Regions from separate parts of the Homo sapiens genome. Here all the other regions are linked to region 2. The links are contacts of gene promoters, found by promoter capture Hi-C in blood cells and fetal thymus (Javierre and others, 2016). All regions are on one chromosome and are shown on one strand. Each heading gives the region's core, a stretch centred on a gene start or on the middle of the fragment in contact. The rest is flanking DNA. Distances are from core to core; before and after follow the strand shown. Region 1 overlaps TEX10 (testis expressed 10). Region 2 holds the start of ALG2 (ALG2 alpha-1,3/1,6-mannosyltransferase). Region 3 overlaps TEX10 (testis expressed 10). Region 4 overlaps INVS (inversin). Region 5 overlaps MSANTD3-TMEFF1 (MSANTD3-TMEFF1 readthrough). Region 6 has its middle 18 kb from the start of CAVIN4. Region 7 has its middle 14 kb from the start of MSANTD3.

The links. Contacts are between HindIII fragments. The CHiCAGO score rates a contact against its expected background, and 5 or more counts as called.
Region 1: a contact is called between a fragment that was not itself captured here and the fragment with the promoter of ALG2 in region 2, in 1 of 17 cell types (M2 macrophages). The highest score is 5.5, in M2 macrophages.
Region 3: a contact is called between a fragment that was not itself captured here and the fragment with the promoter of ALG2 in region 2, in 1 of 17 cell types (fetal thymus). The highest score is 6.1, in fetal thymus.
Region 4: a contact is called between a fragment that was not itself captured here and the fragment with the promoter of ALG2 in region 2, in 1 of 17 cell types (erythroblasts). The highest score is 5.1, in erythroblasts.
Region 5: a contact is called between a fragment that was not itself captured here and the fragment with the promoter of ALG2 in region 2, in 1 of 17 cell types (fetal thymus). The highest score is 5.9, in fetal thymus.
Region 6: a contact is called between a fragment that was not itself captured here and the fragment with the promoter of ALG2 in region 2, in 10 of 17 cell types (fetal thymus, naive CD8 T cells, naive CD4 T cells and 7 more). The highest score is 15.7, in fetal thymus.
Region 7: a contact is called between a fragment that was not itself captured here and the fragment with the promoter of ALG2 in region 2, in 9 of 17 cell types (fetal thymus, non-activated CD4 T cells, activated CD4 T cells and 6 more). The highest score is 11.8, in fetal thymus.

The regions. Positions count from the first base shown.
Region 1 is chr9:100,311,709-100,315,466 of GRCh38, forward strand. All of the region lies in intron 11 of TEX10 (testis expressed 10), which reads right to left. Among named protein-coding and RNA genes, the nearest start is that of TEX10, 39 kb to the right of the region's middle. The HindIII fragment of the contact is 4,493 bases long and covers 1-3,758 here.
Region 2 is chr9:99,219,544-99,223,474 of GRCh38, forward strand. ALG2 (ALG2 alpha-1,3/1,6-mannosyltransferase) reads right to left here and starts at 2,399. Exons shown (of 2, transcript NM_033087.4): 1 at 2,004-2,399. The coding sequence starts at 2,351. It overlaps SEC61B (SEC61 translocon subunit beta), which reads left to right and starts at 2,739. Exons shown (of 4, transcript NM_006808.3): 1 at 2,739-2,823; 2 at 3,003-3,100. The coding sequence starts at 2,821. RefSeq lists an enhancer at 2,489-2,808. The HindIII fragment of the contact is 2,183 bases long and covers 1,446-3,628 here.
Region 3 is chr9:100,330,169-100,334,175 of GRCh38, forward strand. TEX10 (testis expressed 10) reads right to left here. Exons shown (of 15, transcript NM_017746.4): 6 at 1. Among named protein-coding and RNA genes, the nearest start is that of TEX10, 21 kb to the right of the region's middle. The HindIII fragment of the contact is 1,553 bases long and covers 1,558-3,110 here.
Region 4 is chr9:100,250,551-100,254,690 of GRCh38, forward strand. It overlaps INVS (inversin), which reads left to right. Exons shown (of 17, transcript NM_014425.5): 9 at 1,733-1,888; 10 at 2,357-2,586. Among named protein-coding and RNA genes, the nearest start is that of TEX10, 100 kb to the right of the region's middle. The HindIII fragment of the contact is 195 bases long and covers 1,962-2,156 here.
Region 5 is chr9:100,474,047-100,477,638 of GRCh38, forward strand. All of the region lies in intron 1 of MSANTD3-TMEFF1 (MSANTD3-TMEFF1 readthrough), which reads left to right. All of the region lies in intron 1 of TMEFF1 (transmembrane protein with EGF like and two follistatin like domains 1), which reads left to right. Among named protein-coding and RNA genes, the nearest start is that of TMEFF1, 2.7 kb to the left of the region's middle. The HindIII fragment of the contact is 6,579 bases long and covers 1-3,592 here.
Region 6 is chr9:100,594,474-100,598,435 of GRCh38, forward strand. No RefSeq gene overlaps it. Among named protein-coding and RNA genes, the nearest start is that of CAVIN4, 18 kb to the left of the region's middle. The HindIII fragment of the contact is 747 bases long and covers 1,813-2,559 here.
Region 7 is chr9:100,411,809-100,415,447 of GRCh38, forward strand. No RefSeq gene overlaps it. Among named protein-coding and RNA genes, the nearest start is that of MSANTD3, 14 kb to the right of the region's middle. The HindIII fragment of the contact is 2,626 bases long and covers 36-2,661 here.

The DNA.
Region 1 (3,758 bases), core at 836-3,335, 1.1 Mb after region 2:
TTTTTAATTTCCTAAGTTCTCAGAAAAACAAGAAGAGTCAAGAACAGTACTAAGTCCTTCACAGATATCAGTCACAGCACAAACTCCAGAATCTGATACAGTATACTACCAAAAATGAAATATGTAAAAACATCACATGAAAAAACAAGAATGGTAGAAGGATGAATATCACTCTAGGAAGAGATCAGTCAGTTAAGTTCAAGAGAGCTGTCATCTAGCCCTGAAAAATCAAGACTTTTTATACTTGTTATTTACAGATTTGAGAGTGTGTGGGGGGGGGAATCAACAGATCTATACATTATTTCTCTGTAAAATATCTTGTAGATATTACCCAGATATTTTACTTGGTAACTTCTTTTATACCATTAAGTAACAATGAGAAAAAACTCATTTCCAAGGCCATCTTCCTACTCCAAAACAAACATGGTGAATATTTTTATTAATCCAAACCACATTTGAAAAGTGCACATTCAATAATGACCACTTCATCACTTCCCTTCTGCCTCCCCTTGCTGCCCTAAACAATTCAGTTCTAAAGCCAATGGCTGGAGCCAAACTAGGTAAACTCTGGCACTGGATTTGGTGGGAGTGCTGAGATGGCCCAGAGTAGACAGCCCGAAAGAACCAGAGCCCAAATGGAGTGAGATGAGAGGGGTGGCAGCAAAGGAAGACTAATTATAGACAGAGAAGCTGATCAAGTAAATATATTAAGTATAACTGGAGCCAGGTTTCTATCAGAGAAAGCAGGTACAAAAAAGAAACAGGATATAACTAGAATAAACTCTGTGGTGTTGAATGACTACTTTATGTCCAATAAGAGGATACGGGAGAAGCAACATCCAACAGCAATAAGCACACCTAAATTCCACATGTTGGTTTCTAAATACCATTCTCCACTGTTTTTTGCAGAAAACTGGTCTGCCATAACTACTCTAATATAATCTCCTCTTTCACAAATAGGAGACTACCTGAACTCTCCCCAAGTATCATACCAAGAAAGTTACATGTGCTACCATAACCGTATAGAAGCTGAGCTTTCCCTGAGAATTTACAAGTCACCATACAGACCCTGAGAGATAAAAGCAAGCTGAAAACCTAAAATAAACGTAAGATTTCAAGACCTATAAGTAAACACAGTACCAGGCACTATGGGTAATAAAAAGAGGATGTCATTGGCATGACCCTAGCATTGTGACCAGAGTCAAACAAAGCCATGAGAGAAATAAGTTAAATATCTATAAAAGATATAGTCCCTAGAGATAGGAAGAACATGAAGGTAATTCAAAATAAAATGAATTTATCAAGTAAATAAATTCATTGGTATACCAACAACAACAACAAAAGATTAGGTTGTAACTTGAACCTAGAGACTACCCTGTTGACAACACTGTCAAAACTGGCTAACAAAAAATAAAATTAGCCAGGAGAGAATATTACTTCATGAAAAAATGAAATCAAAATTACTTAGGATGACATAATTTTGCATTCTCACTGGACAAGCACCTTTCAACATTAAGAAATAGTGGCCGGGCATGGTGGCTCATGCCTGTAACCCCAGCACTTTGGGAGACCAAGGCAGGTGGATCACCTGAGGTCAGAAGTTCAAGACCAGCCTGGTCAACATGGTGAAACCCTGTCTCTACTAAATATACAAAAATTAGCCAGGCATGGTGGCAAGCGCCTGTAATCCCAGCTACTCGGGAGGCTAAGGCAGGAGAATCGCTTGAACCCGGGAGGCAGAGGTTGCAGTGAGCAGAGATCGTGCCATTGTACGCCAGCCTGGGCAACAAGAGTGAAACTTGGTCAAAAAAAAAAAAAAGAAAAAGAAAAAGAAAAAAATTTAAGAAATAAAGAATAGGGTCGGGCACAGTGGGTCACACCTGTAATTCCAGCACTTTGGGAGGCCAAGGCAGGCAGATCACTTGAGGTCAGGAGTTCAAGACCAGCCTGGCCTACATGGTGAAACCCCGTCTCTACTAAAAATACAAAAGCAGGTGTGGTGGTGCATACCTGTAATCCCAGCTACTCAAGAGGCTGAGGCAAGAGAATTGCTTGAACCCAGGAGGCAGAGGTTGGCAGTGACCTGAGACTGTGCCACTGCACTCCGGCTTGGGCGACAGAGTGAAACTGTGTTTCCAAAAAAAAAAAAAAAAAGAGACACACACATAGGAACGTAGCCTTCTTTTCTCAGCGTGTCCCTGTATGGTTTTGGTATCACGTGATACTGGTGTCACAGAATGAATTAAGGAGAATTCCCTCTTCCCTCCTTGATTTTTGGAAACAATTTCAGGAGAATGAGTATTAGCTCTTTTTTGTACATTTGGCAGAATTCAGCTGTGAATCCATCTGGTTCTGGGCTTTTTGTTCTTTGGAGATTTTTCTTTTTTTTTTTTTTTTGAGACAGAGTCTCGCTCTGTCACCCACGCTGGAGTGCAGTGGCACTGTCTAGGCTCACTGCAACCTCCACCTCCTGGCTTTAAGCAATTCTCCTGCCTCAGCCTCCCGGGTAGCAGGGACTACAGATGCATGCCACCACACCTGGGTAACTTTTGTATATTTAGTAGAGACAGGGTTTCACCATATTGCTCAGGCTGGTCTTGAACTCCTGACTTCGTGATCCTCCCACCTCAGCCTCCCAAAATGCTGGGATTGCAGGCATGAGCCACTGCGCCCGGCCTGGAGATTTTTTTATTACCAATTTAACCATACTACTCATTATTGGTCTGTTCAGATTTTCTGTTTCATCCTGGTTCAACCTTGGGGAGTTGTATGTTTCCAGGAATTTATCCATTTTCCCTCTAGGTTTTCCAGTTTGTAGGTATATAGTTGTTTGTAACAGTCTTTGTGGTATCAGTTGTTATGTCTCCTTTTCATTTCTTTTTTTGTCTATTTGGATCTTCACTATTCTTCCTTAGTCTAGCTACCGGCTATCAATCTTATCATTTTGAAGAACCAACTTTGCATTTTGTTGACCCTTTGTATTGTTTTTTGATCTCTATTTCATTTAGTTCTGCTCTAATCTTTGTTATTTCTTGTCTTCTGCTAATTTTGGGCTTGGTTTGTTCTTACTTTTCTAGTTCCCTGAAGTGCAACGTTAGGTTGCTGATTAGTTATCTTTCTCCTTTTTTGATGTAGACATTTAATGCTATGAAGTTCCCTCTCAGCACTGCTTTTCCTGTATCTCATGGGTTTTAGTATGATTTGTTTCCATTTTCAATTGTTTCTAAAATGTTTTGAATTTCTATTTTAATTTCTTCAGTGACTCAATGATTGCTCAAGAGCACGTCATCGTTCAGGTGTATGTTGTTTGATTTTGCAATACATTAATGCAAAACGATGTATTTGCATCATTTGTAAAGTTCCTCTTAGTACTGATTTCTTATTTTATTCCACTGTGGTCTGAGGAGATATACTTGGTATGATTTTGATTTTTTAAAATTTGTTGGGACTTGTTGTGACCTACCATATGGTCTATCTGGGAGATAGGTAGTTCTATGTGATGATGAGAAGAATGTATATTCTGCAGTTTGTTGAGTAGAATATTCTATAAATGTCTGTAAGGTCCACTTAGTCTAAAGTTCAACTTAAGTCTGATGTTTCTTTGTATTTTCTTTCTCGATGATCTAATGCTGAGACTGGGGTGTTAAAGCACCCCACTATTATTGTATTGCTATGTATTTCTTCCTTTAGGTCTAGTAATACTTTGGAATCTGGATGCTCTGGTGTTGGGTGCATATATACTTAGTGGTGTTGGGTGC
Region 2 (3,931 bases), core at 1,149-3,648:
TTGTGATTATTAAATGCACTGATATATGCAAAACACATGGAGTTTAGCACACAGTATGTGCTCAATAAATATTAAAGCTAGTCATCATTGAGCATGAACTACATGCTGGCATTACTACAGACTTTCTTGTTGGGTAATCTTTACAAGTCATTTTAGTCTCAGCTAACTTAAAACCTGAAGAAGGTAACTTTAGGGATAATGTGCAATTTATTCAAAGCCACTTAATTAAAGCAGTAGATACGGAACTTGAATCCAAGATGCCTATTTCCAAGCCAATAATTTTTCCTCTACCCACTATAGTCTCAGCTGCCTCATGTCTACTGACACATGCAGGATGTTTGGTAAATGTCCACGTTACTTAAAAAGAAAGCTTCCATGCAAGCAAGGATGATCAAAAGTAACTCAGGAGTCATAATTAAAGAAACACAAATACAAATGTGATGCCATCTGCACCTATCAGTTTGGCAAAGTTTAAAATGGTTAATATCCAAGGCGGACAAAAGCATGGAGTAAGAGGCTCTATCATACATTGTGGGGGAGTAAAGTGACACAGCCTCCTTGGTAGGCAAACTTGGCAGTAGCTATTGATATTTAAAATGAACAACTCTTAGACCCACCAACTTTAGGAATTTCCTCAAACGACATATTTGCAGAAGTACAAAAATATTTTAAAAAAAAGAAGTAAAAGGATGTTCATTACAACACTGATCTATTCACAAAAAACTAGTCACAACATTAGTGTCCTTTAAGGAGAATGTTTAATTATGACACACTTAAACAAAAGTGGATTTTCTGGCCACTATGAAGAATGAAGTGAATCTCTAATATTGATACATAAGAATGTCCCGGCTGGGCGCAGTGGCTCATGCCTGTAATCCCAGCACTTTGGGAGGCCGAGGTGGGCGGATCGCGAGGTCAGGAGTTCGAGACCAGCCTGGCCAACATGGTGAAACCCCATCTCTACTAAAAATAGAAAAAATTAGCCGGGCGTGGGGCGCGCACCTGTACTCCCAGCTACTCTGGAGGCGGAGGTTGCAGTGAGCCGAGATCGCGCCACTGCACTCCAGCCTGGGAGACAGAGCAAGACTCCGTTTCAAAATAAATAAATAAATAAATAAATTTTTGCTGAAAAAGATGCCTAATAGTAGGTATGTCATAATACCAATTATGTACCAATAAGAAGATATAGATATACCTATGAAAAGACACAGGCTGGTGTCACCACAACTTCTGAAAAAATACAAGAGAAACTTAACGGTGGCTATCTTCAGGGAGTAGAATAGGACGGGGCTTTTAGGTTACATCCTTCTATACTACTAAATTTTTAATCGAGTAAATGTTACTTTTTAAAGTCATCTTTTTTAGGATGGGGAAAAATGCACGAAGGAAAGAGTCAAGAATAGCTACAGGGCAGATCCAGGTGGACATTATTTACCAAGGTAAAAAGCTTGAACTTTTCTCCAAAAACCAATGGGGAGCCATGTACAAGTTTTAATAGGGGCATGATATATTCAGCTTGGCGTTTTTAACACATGACACTGCTGAGGACGGTGTGGCCTGGCTCCGAACACAAGGACAGTGGGATGCAAATGGCCTGAAAGGAGAGTCAACAAAAATAACAGGTAAGCGGGAAGACAACACGCGAGTTACTCATTAGTAAAAGGTGACTGAAGCTGACTTCTAATACCAGCGTTTCTCAGAGCCCCAAAGACTATCTACCTCGGAATCACCCTATGACCCAGTTAAAATGCAGATGTCTGGGCCCCACCTCAGGGCACCTGGATGAAAACTTCCTGGAGGATGGAACCCCAGCAATCTGCAACTTTAAATGGGCCCACACTAAAGTTAGAGAACCACAGGCTCGCTCACAACCCTGACTTCTCCATGTCAGTTCCGATCTTTGCGAACCGCAGACAGGGAAGGTCTTCTCTCAGGGGTCATGCCCGCGGCCGCCCTCCACGGCGAGGTCCGCACTCGCGCAGCCGGCCCCGCGGCCGCCTCACCTGGTCGCACACTACCACGTCGAACTCCTCGTCGGCGAGGAACAGCACGTAGAGCGCCAGGAAAACCATGCGCACGTAGGCGCAGACGGCGGCGCCGCGGCCGCCCCAGCCCAGGCCTCGCGGCAGCCAGTCCCCGGCACAGCGCACCGGTAGCTCGCGGCTCTCGGCGAAACAGTGGCCCGGGTCGTAGTGCGCTGTCCAGATCTTCACGCTACACCCGCGCGCCTGCAGCGCCAGCGCCGCGTCCAACACCAGCCGCTCAGCGCCGCCCACGCCCAGGTCTGGGTGGAGGAACAGCACCGACGGCTTGGGAACCGAGTCCCGTTCCCGGCCCTGCTCCTCCGCCATGGCCCTGGAGCCGCAACTGCACCCCGCACCCTGATGGGGGTCTTCTGCGCAAGCTCCGCGCTCGTAGCTCCCAGCTGGCCACTGCGGGCCGACCCCGCCCTGCCGTACGTGCGTCAGTTAGGCCACATCAGCGCAAATCTGTGAGGGTCTAGTAACTGCCTGAGAAAATATCTTGTCTGACCCCGGTTATATTTTTCCTTCGGTAGGGATTGGACTTTCTGAAGGACGTTGTGATCCAAAGGAAGGAGGCCGGAGGTCTCTACTTCCCATACAGCAGGTAACTAAGTTGTCTGTAGCAGACTGTCTACAGGCATATCGTGAGACGACCCAGGCGTCCCTGGGGTCAGAGAGGACCTTGCCTGCAAGTCCGGGGGCGGGGCCTGAGTCAGTCTCGCCAGCTGCCGGTCTTTCGGGGGCTCCGTAACTTTCTATCCGTCCGCGTCAGCGCCTTGCCACCCTCATCTCCAATATGGTATGGCGGCCCTTCCATGATCCCCGCCTCTCCCAGAAGCCCTGACTCCTCCTGCTTTGCGCCGTGCTTTTCCTCTGTAGCTCCCTTGCTTCCCCCAGCCTCGGGTGTGGGTGTCTAGGCCGGGGTTCTGGGGCAGGCCTGCCGCGCTCACCCGTCTGTCTGCTTGTCTCCCTCTACAGCCTGGTCCGACCCCCAGTGGCACTAACGTGGGATCCTCAGGGCGCTCTCCCAGCAAAGCAGTGGCCGCCCGGGCGGCGGGATCCACTGTCCGGCAGAGGTAAGGAACCCTGCAGTTCGTTCGCTTCCAGACTCGGAGATAGGACCCAGAACCTCGCTGATTCTGGGGTGGAGACCCTAGCATGTGAAGATTGACAAAGGCAAAATGAGCTTCTAGTGACGTGGCCGTGGGAGTAGTTAAAGGCCTTTTGGGAGGAAGGCGACATTTTTTTTCTCGTTGCTCAGTTTAGGGCACTACTCTTAAAAAAGGAAAGTTAACAAACTGGAATAGAGTCAGAGATAACTTTGAGAAAACCGATGTCATTAAACTGGTGTCTCTGGACCTGAGGTTTGCACTCACATTTCCATCTGGCGGCCCCATAAGCAATCTGTCCTACAGATAACTCGTCCTACACAAAACTTAGTCTCTTTTCAGCTCAGCTCTCTCACTCTCAATTATATCTCCTTACTTCCATATGGCACTGTTGTACACTCATTTACTCAGAGCCAGAAACGTCAGCGTCATCTTGGATTTTTCTTATGCTCTTTCTCTCTCTAGTCATATGCCAGACTTTAAACTCTGCTTGAAAGCTTTCTCATAAGCTCTTTCCTTTTCCCTTTCTACTGCTTTGCATTTGCTACTTAACCCTTTTCTTCAGGCTGTTTGCTTTCCAGTCCATCGTTCGCTCTGCTGTTACTCTTCTGCGTAGTTTCTGTTACTTGTTGCTGAACTAAAAAAAACAAACAAACAAAAAAAAAAAACCGGGGGGATACCAAAGCTCTTAGTGGTCATTTCAGCCTAACCTTTCTTTTTCCTTTTTTTTTTTTTGGGATGGAATCTCACTCTGTCGCCCAGGCTGGAGTGCAGTGGCACGATCTCGGCTCACTACAG
Region 3 (4,007 bases), core at 1,084-3,583, 1.1 Mb after region 2:
GCTAGAAACAAAGACACACACATCTATAAAGCATTACGTCTACCATGCCTGCTTCATTAGAATACTTAAAATAATCTATCAATGGAGTTTTAAAAAATTCCCTTCTAGAATTAATAGATGGCCAAGAAGATAGGTGCATAGGCAAGACTTAGGCCACAGTTCTATAAATAAACCATTTCATTATGGAATCAGAGTTGTTAAGAAGGTACAGAGTGTATACAGCTCAATTCATTACTCAAGGTGCTATTCACACAAAATGTAAATGCCCTTATAATATTGCCTGGGAACTTGAAAAATAAGACTTAAAAACCCTGACACACCTGATTTAAGGCAGATGCTTATATTTGGATGGAAATCACAGTAGATCTTGGCTCTGCTTTTAACTAATCATCTGACTTAAAAGAATCACTAGTCTTTCCTGGCCATAACTTTCTCACATGTGAAATAAGGAGACATACCCCGGTAAGCACTGATTTGAAACAATTTTATAATTCACATATTAATATCAGTTTATTCACTCTAGCCAAACAAAACACAATTTCAAAAAATCTAAAATAAAATATTTTAATAAAAACAAAATTTGCAACTTAGAACATACTCATTTCAGACTGTGGTATATTCAACAGCAGAGCTTATTTCTTTCATGTTTAGAAAAACATAAAGCTGGCTGGGTGTGGTGGCCCATGCCTGTAATCCCAGTGTTTTGGGAGGATGAACTGGGAAGACTGCTTGAGGCCAAGAGTTGGAGACTAGCCTGGAAAACACAGCGAGACCCCATCTCTACAAAAAATGAAAGTAAAATTAAAGCCAGGCATGGGAGCTCACGCCCGTAATCCCAGCACTTTGAGAAGCCGAGGCAGGTGGATCACCTGAGGTCAGGAGTTCAAGACCACCCTGACCAACATGGTTAAACTCTGTCTCTACTAAATACAAAAAAAAAAAATTAGCCGGGTGTGGTGGCACATGCCTGTAATCCCAGCTACTTGGGAGGCTGAGGCAGGAGAATCACTTGAACCCAGGAGGCGGAGTTTGCAGTGAGCCAAGATTGCGCCATTGCACTCCAACCTGGGCAACAGGAGTGAAACTCCATCTCAAAAAAATAAATAAATAAAAATAAAATAAGCCAGGCATGCTGGCAAGTGCCTGTAGTCCTAGCTACTCAGGAGGCCAAGGCAGGGGCATCACTTAAGCCCAGGAGTTTGAGGTTACAGTGAGCTATGATCACACAACTGCACTCCAACCTGGGCAACAAAGAGAGACCCTATCACTAAAAAACAGAAAAGAAACATGTAAATTTGACTAAAGCCATAAATATCTCAAGCCAATCAATTTTAAAGGAAAAGATTAATCCTAGTTAGTCTTGAGCAAGGGCACAGTAGTGAGGAACCACAAATACATGAGAAGGGAAATAAAAGAAATCTGGCATTATCAAGCATCAAATGTTAAGACCCGGAACGACAAATGAGCCTGGAAAGGTAAAATGAAACCAGGTTACAAAGAGCCAGAGGCTAAAGACATCAAAATTAATTGTGTAAGCAAGGGAATAACATGGTTGCAAGCTTCTTTCAGAGACATGATTGTGTGGATACGAAAAGGACAATGAGTTACAGCCTATAAACAAAGAAGCAGCACTCCAGACAAGAGATGGCAAGTCCAAGAACCAGGGTCAATACTGGTATGAACTGGGAGAAGGAGAGCATTTACAAAGAAGAAAAATTAGCCAGATTTGAAATATGCTTAAATATATACAAATATGTGAGTCTGAAGATGGTGGAGACAGGAGGAGTAATCATTAAGGGTTCTAACAGTAGTGACTAAATTCAGAGATGATGAAGAAAAAGGGGCAGAGAGATCTAGAAATTAATTCTACGTTGGATATGTTGAGCCTAAAGTATCATAATCAAATCCAGACGGAGATGGCCAACAGATAATTCAATGTACAAGTCTGACACTGGAAGAAGTCTGAGCTATTTAATAGAAATTACCCATATGACTGCTCCTAGCTGCAAAGAAAACTGGGAAATCTGTTTTTTATTTTGTGTAGTGATACATTCAGATGAAAATTAAGAATCCTATCATTAAGAAAAGAGACAGTAAACACTGGGATAGAATTGCAACATTTCTTCCCCACAGGTAGAGCTTTGGAAAATTTACCGTAAGTTTATCTCAGGCAGCATAATCTATTACAATCCGGAAAGTCTCAATGGACATCTGCAAACTTGGGAGAGTTCCTTCTGCTCCTCCAATAACATATACAGAAATTTCAAAGACTAAATATACCAACCAACAATTCTAGGAGGAAGGCAGATCTCTGATGAAACTTTAACTTCCAGTAAAGGTAGTATAGGTAATTATAATATTGCTCAAAACAGGCCGGGCGCAGTGGCTCACGCCTGTAATCCCAACACTCTGGGAGGCCGAGGTGGGCGGATCACGAGGTCAGGAGATCGAGACCATCATGGCTAACACGGTGAAACCCCACCTCTACTAAAAATATAAAAAATTAGCCGGGCGCGGTGGCAGGCACCTGTAGTCCCAGCTACTCAGGAGGCTGAGCCAGGAGAATAGCGTGAACCCGGGAGGTGGAGCTTGCAGTGAGCCGAGATCATGCCACTGCACTCCGGCCTGGGTGACAGAGCGAAACTCCATCTCAAAAAAAAAAAAATTGCTGAAAATAACTAGAAGTGCAAGATTCCAGCACTCAAGGTTTAGTCCTGAGGGCAACTGCCAGTTCCAAAGAAAAAAGCTGCAAAACTAAGGCAACCTTTTAGTGGCCCCACAAGAAAAGAAAGTCAAAAGTCAAAGCCTAGGGCCTACCAAGACATTCCTACCTGTTTTTTGTTTTTTTGTTTTTGAGACAGAGTGTTGCTCTGTCACCCAGGCTGGAGTGCAGTGGCACGATCCTCCCACCTCGGCCTCCCGGGTAGCTGGGATTACAGGAACATGCCACCACACCCAGCTAATTTTGTATTTTTAGTAGAGATGGGGCTTCACCATGTTGTCCAGGCTGGTCTGTAACTCCTGACCTCAAGTGATCCACCCGCCTCGGCCTCCAAAAGGGCTGGGATTACAGGTGTGAGCCACTGTGCCCGGACAACATCCCTACCTTAAGCTTGGCCCTTAAAGGTTTCTCTCCCAGGAAAGTAAAAATAAGTCAAGATAAACCTGAATCCTAGTTCTGCATCATTCTAGCAGTTTAAGGAATAATTCTTCCTAAACTAATCTATAGATAGATTCAACACAATCCAAATCAAATTTCTAGCAAGCTATTTTGTAATTGTTGACAAAATGATTCTGAAGTCTATATGGAAAGGTCAAAGACCCAGAATACCAAACATAAGACTAAAGCAAAACAAGCTGGGCATGGTGGCTCATGCCTGTAATCCCAACGCTTTGGGAGGCTAAGGCGGGAGGATCCCTTGAGCCCAGTTCAAAATCAGCCTGGACAACATAAGAAGACCCCATCATAAAAAAAAAAAAAAAAAAAACCACAACAAAAAAATGCACTAAAGCAAAACAAAGCTGGAAGACTCACACTCCCCATTTTCAAGACTCCCAATAAAGCTACAATAAGCAAGATAAGATGGTATTGGTGAAACAATAAACATACATAAATTAATGGAACACAGTCCCAAAACGGACCCATGAAAATAGTCAACTGAACTTTGACAAATGAGCAAAGGAAATTTAATGGATAAAGTACAGTCTTTCCAATGAACGGTGATAGAACAACTGGAAAGAATTCTAGAATTGAAAAATAAAAAATGAAAATTCAATGGACTTATGTTTGACTACAACTGAATACAACTAAAGAATTAAAAACTGGAAGAGATAAAAGATTAAAAAATAGGTGGAGGATTCAGTAAGTAGATGTAACATGCATTAAATTGGTCTTGAAAGGGAAGAAGAGAAATTGGCAAATGTTTAAAAGATAATACGTTTTTCAGAAGCGATGAAAAGACATTTCATTCAAGATTCAAGATCTCAGATATCCACTAAATCCCAAG
Region 4 (4,140 bases), core at 809-3,308, 1.0 Mb after region 2:
TAAATTCAGATTCCCAGGCTATATGGACAAAGATTCTATGTCAAATCCCGTAGCAAGTCCTGTTGACTCCACCTCCAAAATGTGTTCTAAATCATTCTGTTTCTCTTCATCTCCATTGCAACCACCCTAATCAGACCACCATCATTTTTCACTCAGTCTACTGCCAAAATCCTTACTGGTCTCCCTGCTTATATTCTAATCTACTACAAATACTTTCTCCTCAGAAGAGCTAGAGTGATCTGTTTAAAGCATAAATCAGATAATATCACTCCACTATATAAAGCCCTTCAAATGTCTTCCATCACTGACTGATAGGACCATTTGTGATCTGGCCTTTTCTATGTTTCTGACTTACTCCACTGTCACTTACTGTGCTGCAACTACCCTTCCTTCCTTAAACATACACAGTCGTTCCTGTCCTGTACTAACTCTTCCCTTTGCTCAAAATACGCTGTCTTTTTCATGGTTCAGGTCTCAACTTAAATGTCAGCTCATAACCACCAATCAAAAGTAGTCCCTCAGTGATTCTACATATCAAAATAGTTTTTATTACTTTAATTATACCAATTATCACTATATAATAACTTTATTGATGGGGAATTGTTTTGTTTTTGTTTTGTTTTGTTTTGTTTTTGTTTTGTTTTGCTTCCCTTCCTAGAATGTAACCTTATCTATTGTATTCTTTGCTAAACACCCAGCATTATAATACTACCCAGCCCAAAAATCTGCATCCAGGTTTGCTCTGTGGATCACCCTTTATGAAAGAGACATTGTTCTAGGCCTTATAGAGCCATAATACTTAGAACTGGCCAAGGCCTCTAAAGTGTTATTGTGGCTAATTCAAACCTATAGAGGGATGGCATAAGCCAAGCATTACACTGGAGTAACATAGAGAGGAGTCAGTGTACATGAAACACATTTAATCAAAATTACTCTTTAAAACCTCTGGACAGCACAAGAGAGGAGGCCATATTCCATCTCAGTTTTTCTCCAGTGAAGCAAATTCCTGTTTCTTTTCTTTTCTTTTTTTGAGATGAGGTCTTTCTATTTTCTCCAGACTGGTCTAGACCTATTGGGTTCAAGCAGTCCTCCTGCCTCAGCCTCCCAAGTAGCTGGGACTATAGACATGTGCCACCTCGCTGTTTCTTAAATTGAGCCCTGGGGAAGTAGCTGGCTTGTAGCTGATATTGTATTAAAAATGCACTCAATGCAGCAAGATGTGCGTGCTTTCAGTACCACTGGGGTACTTCAGCCAACTGAAGGAACAGTGCATGTAACCAATGGAAGGAACAGTAGATTGATGTCTCCAGTCACATGACCCCTTAGGGGCATATGCTTATTGAGTGGGTTGTTGGGCAGAATTGTGTACATCATTTAAATCATTCCTCTTTGTTATTGTTTTCTTGCTCTCTTAAAGAGAAAAAGAGAAAACTAATAGCTGAAAAGAGAAAACTAGTAGCTGAGAAGAGGATACCATTTCAGACCAACAGGATGGAAAGGAAGAAAATAGCAAGAAGAGAAAGGTAGAAGGAAAGGAGAAAGTGTGAGTAATACATATGAATAGGAAGGAAGGCAGAATCTAAAAAAGCAAAAAATAAATTAGTGAATCCTTAAAATGGAGATTGCATTTATTCAAAATGATGGGGAAATCAAGAGAGGAAAAGACATATAATAATTTAAAAGGTGAAGTTGTTATTGACTAGTTCATCACTTTCTGTTGGTTCCCTTTTAGCTTTGCATGCTGCTGCTCTTTCTGGCCATGTCAGCACCGTGAAGTTATTACTGGAAAATAATGCTCAAGTAGATGCTACTGATGTTATGAAACATACTCCACTTTTCCGAGCCTGTGAGATGGGACACAAAGATGTGATTCAGACACTCATTAAAGGTGGGCTAATAAGAGTACTCCTAATAAGTCTCTCTTAACAGGTAGGAATTCTTGCATACTCTGTTTAAGATAAAGCTTTCCTTAGCAGAAAGCTGCACAAGTACAAGGATGAAGGGATGATCACACAACATGGCATGAGGAACCTCAAGTTCTACTCCTAGCTCCACTTGTTGGGAGTTGCTTGATACAGGAAAAGTAATTTCACCTGCCTGATCTTCACTTTTATTTTATATAAAGGGGGACTGATTCCTAGCCAGTCCAATTTACAAGCTTATTGTAAAAATCTGATGTAGACAACGTATGTGGAAGCATTTCCATAAGAATAAAGCATTAAAGGAACAATTGTTATTGTTTTTCTTCTATTCATTTTAATAAATGCATTTAAGGAACAATTGTTTTTTCTACTCCTACTCATTTTAATAAAAGCTATTTATATTAGACATTCTCATTATATTTGTGCTTTTCCAGGTGGAGCAAGGGTAGATCTAGTTGACCAAGATGGACATTCTCTTCTACATTGGGCAGCACTGGGAGGAAATGCTGATGTTTGCCAGATATTAATAGAAAATAAGATCAATCCAAATGTCCAGGATTATGCAGGAAGAACCCCTTTGCAGTGTGCAGCATATGGAGGCTATATCAACTGCATGGCAGTTCTCATGGAAAACAATGCAGACCCTAACATTCAAGACAAAGAGGTAGAAATTCTGTCTTTTCTATATTGTTTGCTCCAAAGAATTTAGAGTATTTCTTCTTTGTTGTAAACATAAGTAAAACAACAGTTTACAAGATGAAGAGATCACCCACAAATCCATCTGTTAATCATGACTATTATTTGTCCATGTTCTCTTCCAGTCTTTTTCTATATATATAATTTAACATAGTTATAATATAGGCTGGGAATAATTTTATAACTTTTATAAAAGATTACATGGCATACACATGTATGCATCTATAAACATAAATATATGATTTTCTTTTTTTTTTTAATTATACTTTAAGTTCTAGGGTACATGTGCACAACGTGCAAGTTTGTTACATATGTATATATGTGCCATGTTGGTGTGCTGCACCCATTAACTCATCATTTATATTAGGAATATCTCCTAATGCTATCCCTCCCTGCTTCCCCCATCCCACACCAGCCCCCGGTGTGTGATGTTCCCCACCCTATGTCCAAGTGTTCTCATTGTTCAATTCTCACCTATGAGTGAGAACATGCGGTATTTGGTTTTCTGTCCTTGCGATAGTTTGCTGAGAATGATGGTTTCCAGCTTCATCCATGTCCCTACAAAGGACATGAACTCATCTTTTTTTTGTGGCTGCATAGTATTCCATGGTGTATATGTGCTGTATTTTCTTAATCCAGTCTATCATTGATGTACATTTGGGTTGGTTCCAAGTCTTTGCTATTGTGAATAGTGCCGCAATAAACATACGTGTGCATGTGTCTTTATAGCAGCATGATTTATAATCCTTTGGGTATATGCCCAGTAATGGGATGGCTGGGTCAAATGGTATTTCTAGTTCTAGATCCTTTAGGAGTCGCCACACTGTCTTCCACAATGGTTGAACTAGTTTACAGTCCCACCAACAGTGTAAAAGTGTTCCTATTTCTCCACATCCTCTCCAGCACCTGTTGTTTCCTGACTTTTTAATGATCGCCATTCTAACTGGTATGAGATGGTATCTCATTGTGGTTTTGATTTGCATTTCTCTGATGGCCAGTGATGATGAGCATTTTTTCATGTGTCTGTTGGCTGTATAAATGTCTTCTTTAGAGAAGTGTCTGTTCATGTCCTTCGCCCACTTTTTGATGGGGTTGTTTGATTTTTTTCTTGTAAATTTGTTTAAGTTCTTTGTGGATTCTGGATATTAGCCCTTTGTCAGATGGGTAGATTGTAAAAATTTTCTCCAGTTTGAAGGTTGCCTGTTCACTCTGATGGTAGTTTCTTTTGCTGTGCAGAAGCTCTTTAGTTTAATTAGATCCCATTTGTCAATTTTGGCTTTTGTTGCCATTGCTTTTGGTGTTTTAATCATGAAGTCCTTGCCCATGCCTATGTCCTGAATGGTATTGCCTAGGTTTTCTTCTAGGGTTTTTATGGTTTTAGGTCTAACATTTAAGTCTTTAATCCATCTTGAATTAATTTTTATATAAGGTATAAGGAAGGGATCCAGTTTCAGCTTTCTACATGTGGCTAGCCAGTTTTCCCAGCACTGTTTATTAAATAGGGAATCCTTTCCCCATTGCT
Region 5 (3,592 bases), core at 111-2,610, 1.3 Mb after region 2:
GGTGTGGTCGTGGGTGTGCTCGCGGGAGCGTGTGTTTGTGTTGTGAAGGCTGAGGGGAGGGAGGGCGGCCCCAGGCAGGGATCTGTGTGTGTGTGTGCAGAGTGCGGTGGGTGGGAGACGGCGAGGGGGCTGGGCGGGGTGAGGGCAGGGGAGTGACCATGTGCTGATGTGCTGGGGAGATTCTTCCTTAAGGCACTGGGGGTCTCGGGGGTGGGGGTCGTGTGGATAAAGGGAACGGGTTGTCTTGAGGACGCGGTTTGGCGATGCAGAGTGACTGTGTGTGTGCGCGCGCGCGCGCGTGTGTGTTCTTTGGGTTCTGAGATGGGATCTGGGGGCTTAGAGTGACCTCGGGTCTGTGGATATGAGCGGGGAAAGTCCCAGGGCCCAGGAAGTGACCCTGTGTTTTTGTGTGTTGTGTGTGAAGCCTGGGGCTCAGTTAGTCACCCTGGGGTATGCATTGAAGAGGAGGGATGGGTGCCCTATAGCGAACCCCATTTATGTCTTTTCAAAGGGGAGGAGGCTTGGGAGTCATCATCCTGTGTAGGGTTTGGATGTAGAAAGAGGAAATTAGGTCTCAGGGAATGCCCTTGTGTAGCAAGGTGTAACCCTGGGTTATTAAAGTGTGGAAAGAGAGAATTGGGTCCCAGGGAAGATGTCGTGCCTGTGTGTGTGTGTTTTGCGGGAGGGCCTGGATTCTGGCAGCAGCGGGGAGCAAGGGAGTGACCTCTCCCCTCTCTCCAAGGCCGCTTGCCCCCCCACAGCTGTTGGAAACAAAGAGCTTGCTGAGGCTTTAGTGGATAACACTGGGGAGGAGGGTCCCAGCAGTAAAGTTCCTCTTCATTTCTAAAGGGGTCCCAGAGGCGCACAAGGATTATGGCCCTGGGGCAAAGACAGGCATTCAGGTCTCATTTTTTGAGTGGAGGGTCTTCTTGGAGCTGGCCTAGCAGATGCTAGTGATCATAAGCCACATCCTTGCTAACTTGCCCTTTTATCAATTCTGGAGCCTTCTCTTGTCTTCTTTAAACCAAGGCGGAGTAGGGGGAGGAGGGAGGAACATAAGGCCACTGGGAATCTGCCGGACAACCTTTATACTTTTGGGCTCTTGAAGGGGCATTATTTCTGGAAGAGTGAGGAAGGAGCAAGAGAGTCTCAGCGCAGATGCTTATGCTACCCTAAATGAAGCAAGCCTTTGGCCCGCTATTTAGGTTTGAAGGCCTTAAATCTTTTAATAATTTTCATATGGTAATGTTTTATGAGGGGAATGGCAGTTTTGAGCACAGTAAACAATGGCATGTCCATTAAAAGCATTTCCATCCGTGAAAAAACTTTTCTGTTATTTTTCTGATGTTGAACGGGATATGGGGTAATGCTTTATTACATAATCATACTTTAAGAATAAAAACCAGTTGTATATTAGAGTGCCTTTTTATGTAACAAATATTAATTATCAAACTTGTAAGTGATCGCACCATGTCAATATTTTTCCAGCTAATGTGTCGCGGGTATTTGTTCTTGCTAAGCTAATTCGTTCTTAGCAAAATATAGTGTGTCTTGATGGGATGTTTTTGTGTGTACTTTCTAACTTGCATAGTTCAAGTTTTAAGAAAGGAAATAAAAGAAATAGAGGGATGGATACCCTTGAGGATGTGGGTTGGTGATGCAGAGCGACTGTGTGTGTGTGTGTGTGTGTGTGTGTGTGTGTGTGTGTGTTCTTTGGGTTCTAAGATGGAATGTAGGGGCTTGGAGTGACCTCGGGTATGGGCAGGAAAGTCCCAGGGCCGGAGAAGTGAACCTGTGTTTTTGTGTGGTGTGTGTGCGTGTGAAGCCTGGGGCTCAGTTAGTCACCCTGGGGTACTATGCATTGAAGAGGAGGGGTGGGTGACATGCAGTGTGGGAAAAAGGGGACTGATCTAGGGGTCATGGTCCTTGTTAAGCAGCTGTGTAATTTGGGGCAAGTTACTTAATTTCTCTTAGTTTCCATTCCTTTTAAAAAAGAGACTTGGATTTAGTAATATCTGAGTCTTCTTTCAAGCGTATTCATCACTGATATAAATGTCAATAAATTAAGCTGATCAAATAAAATGTTTTCTAGCAGTAAGATATACTTGAATAACTGGGTCTAAAGCTAGAGTTTTAACTAAGTGATACTTGTAGATTCTTATTGTAACTTTTTAGGATGAAGATTTGGGAACGATTCATATGGAAAAAAAATTTTTTTAGTTGGTAAGTTTGAGAACCATGTTAATACAGTCTGGACACACACATCTGTTAATGCAGCTCGAAATTGTGCACAGTTTGTTTAGTAGCTTTTATTATCTAGGTATCCCCCCACAAACTGAAGTTTACTCTGTCATGTTTTTTTTTTTGAGATGGAGTCTCACTTTGTCACCCAGGCTAGAGTGCAGTGGCGCAATCCTGGCTGACTGCAACCTCTGGCTCCTGGGTTCAGGTGATTCTCCTGCCTCAGCCTCCGGAGTAGCTGGGACTACAGGCGCCCACCACCATGCCGGGCTAATTTGTATTTTTAGTAGGGATGGGGTTTCACAATGTTGGCCAGGCTGATCTTGAACTCCTGACCTCAGGTGATCCGCCTGCCTCGGCCTCCCAAAGTGTTGAGATTACAGGTGTGAGCCAATGTGCCTGGCCTATTTCGTTTTTTTTTTTTTTTGAGACGGAGTCTCACTCTGTCACCCAGGCTGGAGTGCAGTGGGGTGATCTCTGCTCACAGCAAGCTCCGCCTCCCGGGTTCGCGCCATTCTCCTGCCTCAGCCTCCCCAGTAGCTGGGACTACAGGCACCCGCCACCATGCCCGGCTAATTTTTTGTATTTTTAGTAGAGATGGGGTTTCATCGTGTTAGCCAGGATGGTCTCGATCTCCTGACCTCGTGATCTGCCAGCCTCGGCCTCCCAAAGTGCTGGGATTACAGGCGTGAGCCACCGCGCCCGGCCTATTTCAGTTTTAAAACTAAATACAGCCCTCGATTCCCTGTAGATATTCATTTTTGGTTTTGGACCATCATTTCAGCCTACTGTGAGCTTTCTGGAGCTGATTCGGTCAGGCTGTGCGTGTTGGGTCACTCACAGGTTTTTTTCACTTGCAAATATGAAGAGCAGTTCTATGGCTTCATTAAATTAATAGAAGTTGTCTAGATTGTGAAAAAGGATGGAACCCTGCGACATATTACTGGAGACTTTCTACCAACTTGGTTGATGTTGTTACGTTAGTCAACCAGATGTTCAACTAGCTATGCATCCTGTTAGTTGAATTTAACAGATTTTCGAGCTTCTGCTGTTCAACATTTTCCCATTTTGTTCACCAGCCTATTATTTAAAAGATTCTTTCAGATTGTCTTGTTAGATTGTTATGTGTATATATCATCCTGTCATCCTCCCTTTTTCCATTTTAGTAATCCTGTTAAATAAAAAGCACATGTTGTATAGCCTGCCTTAATAAAGAGCTGATGGTGGCTTTCTCATTTTACTGTATTCGAAAACTTATTTATCCATTTTAGAATTTTTCAGCAGTTACATAGCAGGTTTACCCACAGATGTTTTTCTGGATCTGCATTCCGCCTTTTTTTTTTTTTTTTTT
Region 6 (3,962 bases), core at 936-3,435, 1.4 Mb after region 2:
TCCTGCCTCAGCCTCCCGAGTAGCTGGGACTACAGGTGCCCGCCACCATGCCCAGCTAATTTTTTGTATTTTTAGTAGAGACAGGGTTTCACCGTGTTAGCCAGGATGGTCTCGATCTCCTGACCTCGTAATCCGCCCTCCTTGGCCTTCCAAAGTGCTGGGATTACAGGCATGAGCTACCGTGCCCGGCTTTTTTTTTTTTTTTTTTTTTTTTTTTAAGGCGGGGCTTGCTCTGTTGCCCAGGCTGGATTGCAATGGTGCAATCATAGCTCACTATAGCTTCCATCTCCTAAGCTCAAGTGATCCTCCCACCTCAGCCTCCCAAGTAGCTGGGACCGCTGGGACCACAGGCACATGCCCACCATGCCTGGCTATTTTTTTTTTCTTTATTTTTAATAGAGATGAGGTCCACTATGTTGCCCAGGCTGGTCTCACATTCCTGAGCTCAAGCAATCCTCCCTCCTTGGCCTCCCAAAGTGCTGAGATTACAGTCATGAACCACCACACCTGGCCCAAATATCTCTCTCTTTGTAAAGCCTTTTAAAATTGTGTGTGCATTCTCTCTGAGATTCTGTAAGTGCAAAGGACTTACTGTGTTTCTCATTAATAAGATAATAGGTATTTAATAAGTATCTACTGAATGAAAACAAATGAATGCCTCTTTGAACTATGGCCTCTTCTCTGAATATCTTTGAATTAGGATCATTTATTTGATGAGTATTTTTTTGAGCACCTCATGTAAGCCTGGCACTCTTCTGGGAGTAAAGTAGTGAACAGAGCCCTTGCTTTCAGAGATTCCAGAGAAAGACTAGTAACTAGCAAATATAGTTATGTTAGGTGGTGATAAGTGCTGTGAAGAAGAAGTCAGGTAAGGGGGCAGGGCATTATGAGTGGGGGTGGTGCAGGCTGCCACTATTTTAGAAAGGGTGTCTGGGAAGGCCTCTGGTAAGGTGACCAGAATGTTTGAATCTGATAGTCAATCATTCAGGTGTTTCTAGGAAGAGTTTCAGTTGTGTTCAGGAGACAGTGTGGTTGAAATGGGTGAGGTGGGAAATGTGGGAGCAGTGGGGTGTCACAGGCTGTTCTAAGGACTTTGGGTTTTACTCTGAATAAGAAGGGGACCCATGGGAACGTGTTAATAAGAACGACATGATCCAATTTATTGTATTTATACTCATTGAAAAAATCCAGCCATTGTGTTCATACAAAAAGCTAACTACAGTTCCTGCCTTAGTTTACACTGCAAAGGAAATCACCCAAACTCCCAAGAGTTTTCCATTCCATGTCCGCTCCCCAAGCCTCACTGCAGCTCAAGGCTGACATCTAGTGGATATTTTCATAATTGTTTATGCACAGGCAGTTTGGAACCTATCCACTGTTGATTAAGAATAGAGGGGGAGGTTTAACATAGAAAATGACAAACTGGATGATTAGTAGAATACTATAGTGGATTTGCCTCTGTTTTTCTTTGGCTCTTATTCAGGTAAATTTACATTTATCTAGCATATATTAGCATGTATTAATTAGAACTGGGTTCAGCTGCCAGAGATTAGAGCATCAAAATCATGGGTTGGTAAGGAGGAGAAAAAGTATCAGGTGGGATGAGCCAGGAGAAAGTGTCCTGGTTCTAGTGGTGGCCCTCAAAAGGTAGCTGTGGTTTGTTGTATGGTGTTAAGGGTGTGTGTATTCCAAACCTGTGCTTGCATCAGGTTGGCATTGATTTACAAAGGGAGTCTACTGCGAAGGGCATGGTGGAATGAAGTTGAAGGCAGCATGGAGATACTGAAAGTTGTGAAGTTGAGTGTTTCCAAAAGCTTAGGTGGGGTATTTCAATGTACAATCAAGAGCTTTAGCTTTATAACTGGAAAATTGGCTTGTGTCTGCCATTTACTGACTGTGAGAACTTGGGCAAATTATATTATCTGAACCCAGTTTCTAAATAGTACCCACCTAAAGGTGTTATATTAAGCCAGATATTTTATGGAAAGCACTTAGCAAACTTAGCATTTAGTAAGCAGTCAAAAATAGGTGTTATTGTTTAGAGGGACTACAAGTAGCCTCTAGAGATAGAGAAGGAGGCTATTGTAATAGTGGTATCTGCATTGCATTTTTTTTTTTGCCCCTAGCATTTAACATTAACAGAATTTAACTTGAAACCATTTTGTAGATGTATATGATCCATTTTATCGACTTTGATTGTGGGCAGTTGCATATTCTGCTTAACTAAGACATAGCATTTTTACTACACAGAGATCACAATCATCCAGTGGCTTTCATAACTTTTAGGAAAAAAAGGCTCAAATATGAGCTCTGCAAGATCTGGCTCCTGCGTGCCTAACTTCATCCTCATCTCTTATTCTTCCTCCTCAGTTTCTGCATTCCAGAGACTGGCCTCTCAGGTCCTCCAATGCCTTATCCCACCTGTCTTAGGACCTTTGCATAGGCAATTCCATTTGCCTGTCCACACTCTTCCCACTCCCCTCCCAACCAACTAAGAATACACCTAGTTAACTTCTATTCATCTTTCAGATTCCATTGAAAATGATACTTCTTCAGGAAAGCTTTCCCTGCCTCTACGTCACTCCCTGACAGGGAAAGCCTCCCCTGTTACACAATAAGAACACTTATTGTAGTTTAAAAATATATATTTAGGTGGTTATTCACTCAGCTAGATTGTAAACCTCTTGAGCACTGGCACCGTGTCTGCTCAGCCCATTGCTCTGTCCCTGCCATGGTGCCTCAGATAGAGTAGTCTGAAAAGGGAGGGATTTTATTTGAAAGTTAAAATGTAGAAATAGATAAAACACTTGGTGACCGAGTATGAGGGATGTAGTGGGTTCTATGGTGACAATCACATTCCCTCTAAGACTTGGCACTCATCCCTCCAGATGCTGGGAGTTTTGACGGCTGATGGCTCTCGCCCAAGTCTGTCTCCAGGAATTGCCCTCAGCAGAGAAAGCCACCTCACCCAAGGTCATGCCCCCTCCTGAGAGCAGCCCACATTGAGTGACGGGTTGACTGAGGGATATGTGTGTGGCTTCTGGCTTCAGCGTGGAACAGCTCTGAAGGACCTTCCTGGGTCCAGAGCTTGCCATAGCATTGGCTGAGGCCCCGGTTTAAACCTCACTAAGTGTTCAACTCCTTGTCTCTGTCCTTCATCCTTCAGCCCTCACAGGTGCTGTTCATGAGAGCATCACTCAATAAGCCACCTACAATATCTCTGAGTCTGTTTCCTAGGGAAGCCAGCCCACAGCTGGGCATGATGGAGAGGGAGGAGTCTAAGGTGGCTCCTGGATTTCTGGCTTGAGACAGCACATGATGTTATCCAGTGAGAAGAGGGACAAAGAAGAAAGTGTACAGAAGTTGAAGCAGGTTTGCTGGAAAAGATATGTTTTGGGGGTGCTAAGTCTGAGGTGCCTGTGGGATAGCCAGGAGTTTGAAGCTCAGAGGAAAGATCTAGACTAGAGGTACAGATTTGGGAGTCATCAGCAAGGCAAAAACAATGGCATTAAGGAGATCTTCACCCCATAAAAGTGTGGAGTGTGAAAAAAAAACAACTAACCAGGAAGCATGTGTGTGGGAGCCAACAGAAATGGGCAGGGGAAGGAAGACACACTTCTGGCAAATATAGTGATCAGAGAGTTTGGAAAACCGGGAGTGTGAGCATTGTGGATGACAGAGGGATTTGCAGCAGTTTCAGATAGATGTGTCAGGAGCTGCAGAGAGAGCAGCATGGAAAAGTGTTCATTGGGGTGCATGACAAGGTCGCTGAGGACCTTGCTGAGAGCAGTTTGAGTGGAGTGGGTAGAAGCAGCCAGATTCCAGTGAGTTGGGGAGATGGGGTGGGAGGAGAAGAGACAAATGTGATAACCTTTGATAACGCTCATGAGATGGGGACAGGAGAGGTAGGTAGGGACAGAGCACAGAAAACAGGAGGGTATTTGTAAATGATGGGGGAGATG
Region 7 (3,639 bases), core at 99-2,598, 1.2 Mb after region 2:
AGGAGCCAGTGGCGAAGAAGGGGAGGAGCTCGCGAAGCTTAGACTGCAGTGACGAGGAAAACGTGGATGGGATAGGAGCAGGAAAACCTCTAGGGCTCTGTGGGGTTAGCGCTCTTGGGGCCGTTTAGTGGGTGTCCCGGGGGTACTCAAAGAGAACCCGTCAGAGACTGACCTTAGTTTACACACGATGCGTCTTTTACTGCTCACATCGAGTCTATTGATTTTGCTTTTTTTTTTTTTCAATTACTTTAGTGGTCAAGAATTGCTGCTTTGCAGTGAGACAGATCCAGATTCCAGTGTCTGGTGTGACTGTGTGTGGCCTTGGGCAAGTTATCTGTCCAAGTTTCAATCGCTACCTGTATCAAATGTAGTTGATTGTAGTTGTGTGCATCACAGGGATTTTGTGAAGATTAAATGACGTCGTATGTATCAAGGGCTTAGCGCACTGCCTGGTACGCAGAAAAAGCCCAGTAAATGGCAAGTGCTATTATAACCATTATCATGAGGTTGGAGGATCGCTTGAGCCTGGGAGGTTGAGGCTGCAGCGAGCAGTGATCGCCCCACTGCCCTCCAGCCTGGGCAACAGAGTAAAACCCTGAAAAAACAAAACAAACAAACAAAAGCCCGGGGGAAACAAATCAAATGTCCCCGTATAAATGATAAACAAAATGTGGTATATACGGAACCTTATTCAGCCTTTAAAAAGAGTGAAATTCTGATGCAAGTTACAACATGGACAAACCTTGAAGACACTATGCTAAGTGAAAAAAAACATACACAAAAGAACACATGTTGTATGATTCCAGTTACATGAAGTATCTGGAATAGTCAAATATTATACACAAAGACAGATGAATAGAATAATGGTTACCTGAGGCTGCAGGTAGGGCAGAAATGAGGAGTTAGTGTTTAACAGGTGCAGAGTTGAGGATGATGAAAACGTCTGGATGGATGGTGAAAATGGTTGCACAGCCATGTGAATGCACTTAATGCCACTGAACTGTACACTTAAAAATGGTTAAAATGGGCCGGGCGCAGTGGCTCACGCCTGTAATCCCAGCACTTTGGGAGGCCGAGGCGGGTGGATCACGAGGTCAGGAGTTCGAAACCAGCCTGACCAACGTGGTGGAACCCCGTCTCTACTAAAAATACAAAAATTGGCTGGGCGTGGTGGCGCGCACCTGTAATCCCAGCTACTCAGGAGGCTGAGGCAAGAGAATCGCTTGAACGCGGAAGGCAGAGGTTGCAGTCAGCCGAGATCGCGCCACTGCACTCCAGCCTGGGCGACAGAGCAAGACCTCAAAACCAAAACAAAACCAAAAAATGGTTAAAATGGTAAATTTTATGTATATTTTACCACACAAAGAAAAGGAGAGGAAAGAAGCCCAGGAGCAGGCAGCGCACAGCGGGAGTGCATGGCAGCTCAGCTCAACAATGCTCTCAGGCGCTTAGGGTCCTTCTATCTTTCAGTTTACCACTCCCAGCATGTGACTTTTGTCCTTGTGGTCATAAGATGATTGCTGCTTCTCGAGGAATTGTGTGCATGTACTAGATAAGAAAAGCCAAAAGTCATCTTCTTGTGAAGTTTTATATTTTCATTCAAGAAAAGGAGCCTAAGGGAATACCCGCCTGCTACTCATTGACAGGAATTTTATCAAGTTGACCTCTCAACAGGAGTCTGGGAAAGTTACTTTTCAAGTGTCTAAAGTATAGAATGGCACAATAAAGGGGAGCTGTGAGGTCCCCCTTATCATGCCATTCTATAGATACTTGAAAGGTAATTTCAAGTATCTAAAGTATAGAATTTTCAAGTACAGAAAATTTGAGGCCGGATGTGGTGGCTCATGCCTGTAATCCCAGCACTTTGGGAGGCCAAAGTGGGCGGATCACCTGAGGTCAGGAGTTTGAGACCAGCTTAGCCAATATAGTGAAACCCCATCTCCATTAAAAATACAAAAAAATTAGCCGGGCATGGTGGTGCGAGCCTGTGGTCCCAGCTGCTCCGGCGGCTGAGGCAGGAGAATCGCTTGAACCCGGGAGGCGGAGGTTGCAGTGAGCCGACATCGCGCCACTGCACTCCAGCCTGGGAGACAGAGAGAGGCTTTGTATCAAAAAAAAAAAAAAAAAAAAAAAAAAAAAGGAAGAAAATTTGAGTAGCCAAATTTTCAGGGAATGTCCCACAAACATAGAGGTTTATTTTGCTTTTTTCCATAAATGTGCTTATACTGCATATTATTTTTTGCAACTTGCTATTTTTTCTTAGCAATATGAATTAGAATTCCTCAGTTCCTTTAGCTGCTGCAAAATACTCTTGTTTCTAAGGCACACTTTTTTATTCACATTTTATGATCTCTCAGATTGGTATGCATCTTACAGTTGCTGTCAGCTAGCAAGGCAGCAATAGTGATGTGGTTGTCATTGCCTGCTGGGTATGCATCAAAACTTGCAGAATGGAGGTTAGCAGCCTGGCATATTGATGATTCTGAGTCTAAACATTATACAGAAGGTTCAGACTCTGAGAAGAGGATTTAGCTATATGGTAATCAATTTATTTCATGAATCCTTTTAATTTATGCATAAGGATAATATGGAACTAAAGATGTCTTAAGCCTTAATTAGCTTTTTCAATAAGTATAAAATAAAAATTATAAATGGCAAGAAAGCTTTGTGTCATAGCTTAATTAGGATCATTTTTCTTTCTTAATGATGTATGAAATAACGAAGGCTATAGCGGGTCACATCCTCGAGTTAATGAAATACAGTGTTCTTTTTTTTTTTTTTGAGACCGAGTCTCGCTCTGTGGCCCAGGCTGGAGTGCAGTGGCGCGATCTCGGCTCACTGCAAGCTCCGCCTCCCGAGTTCACGCCATTCTCCTCTCTCAGCCTCCTGAGTGGCTGGGACTACAGGCGCCCGCCACTACGCCCGGCTAATTTTTTGTATTTTTAGTAGAGACAGGGTTTCACCGTGTTAGCCAGGATGGTCTCGATCTCCTGACCTCGTGATCCGCCCGCCTCTGCCTCCCAAAATGCTGGGATTACAGGCGTGAGCCACTGCGCCCGGCCGAAATACGGTGTTCTAAATATGACTATTCCATAGCTTATTTAATCATTTCCTTTTTGATAGAAGTTAGGTTTAATGATGCTTTAGGAAACCCTTGTGCATGCCCTTTTTTGCATATGTGAAAGTAGTCGTTCTCTAGATACCTAGGAATACACATTTTAACATTCTGAGAGCAACTGCCCTTTAAAAAGCTCCTATCGATTTACACTTCCATGAAAGAACCCATTTTTTCCAAACAGTTTTACATTTTGGTCAATCTGGTATCTGAAAATAGTACATCATTGTTTTGATTTTGTCTTTTAGTGTTGTTAAGGGTGTCTATAACATAGAAGCCAATTTTTAAAAATCAACTTTTTATTTTTGTGTAGTTTTAGATTTACAGAAAAACTGTGAAGATAGAACAGAGTACTCCTATATATCCCACACCTAGTTTCTCTATTGTTAATATCTTACATTAGAATGGTATCTTTGTCACAATCAATGAACAAATATTGATACATTATTATTAACTAAAGCCCATATTTTATTCAGATTTTCTTCATTTTTGCCTAATGTCCTTTTTCTGTTGGACAGTCCCAT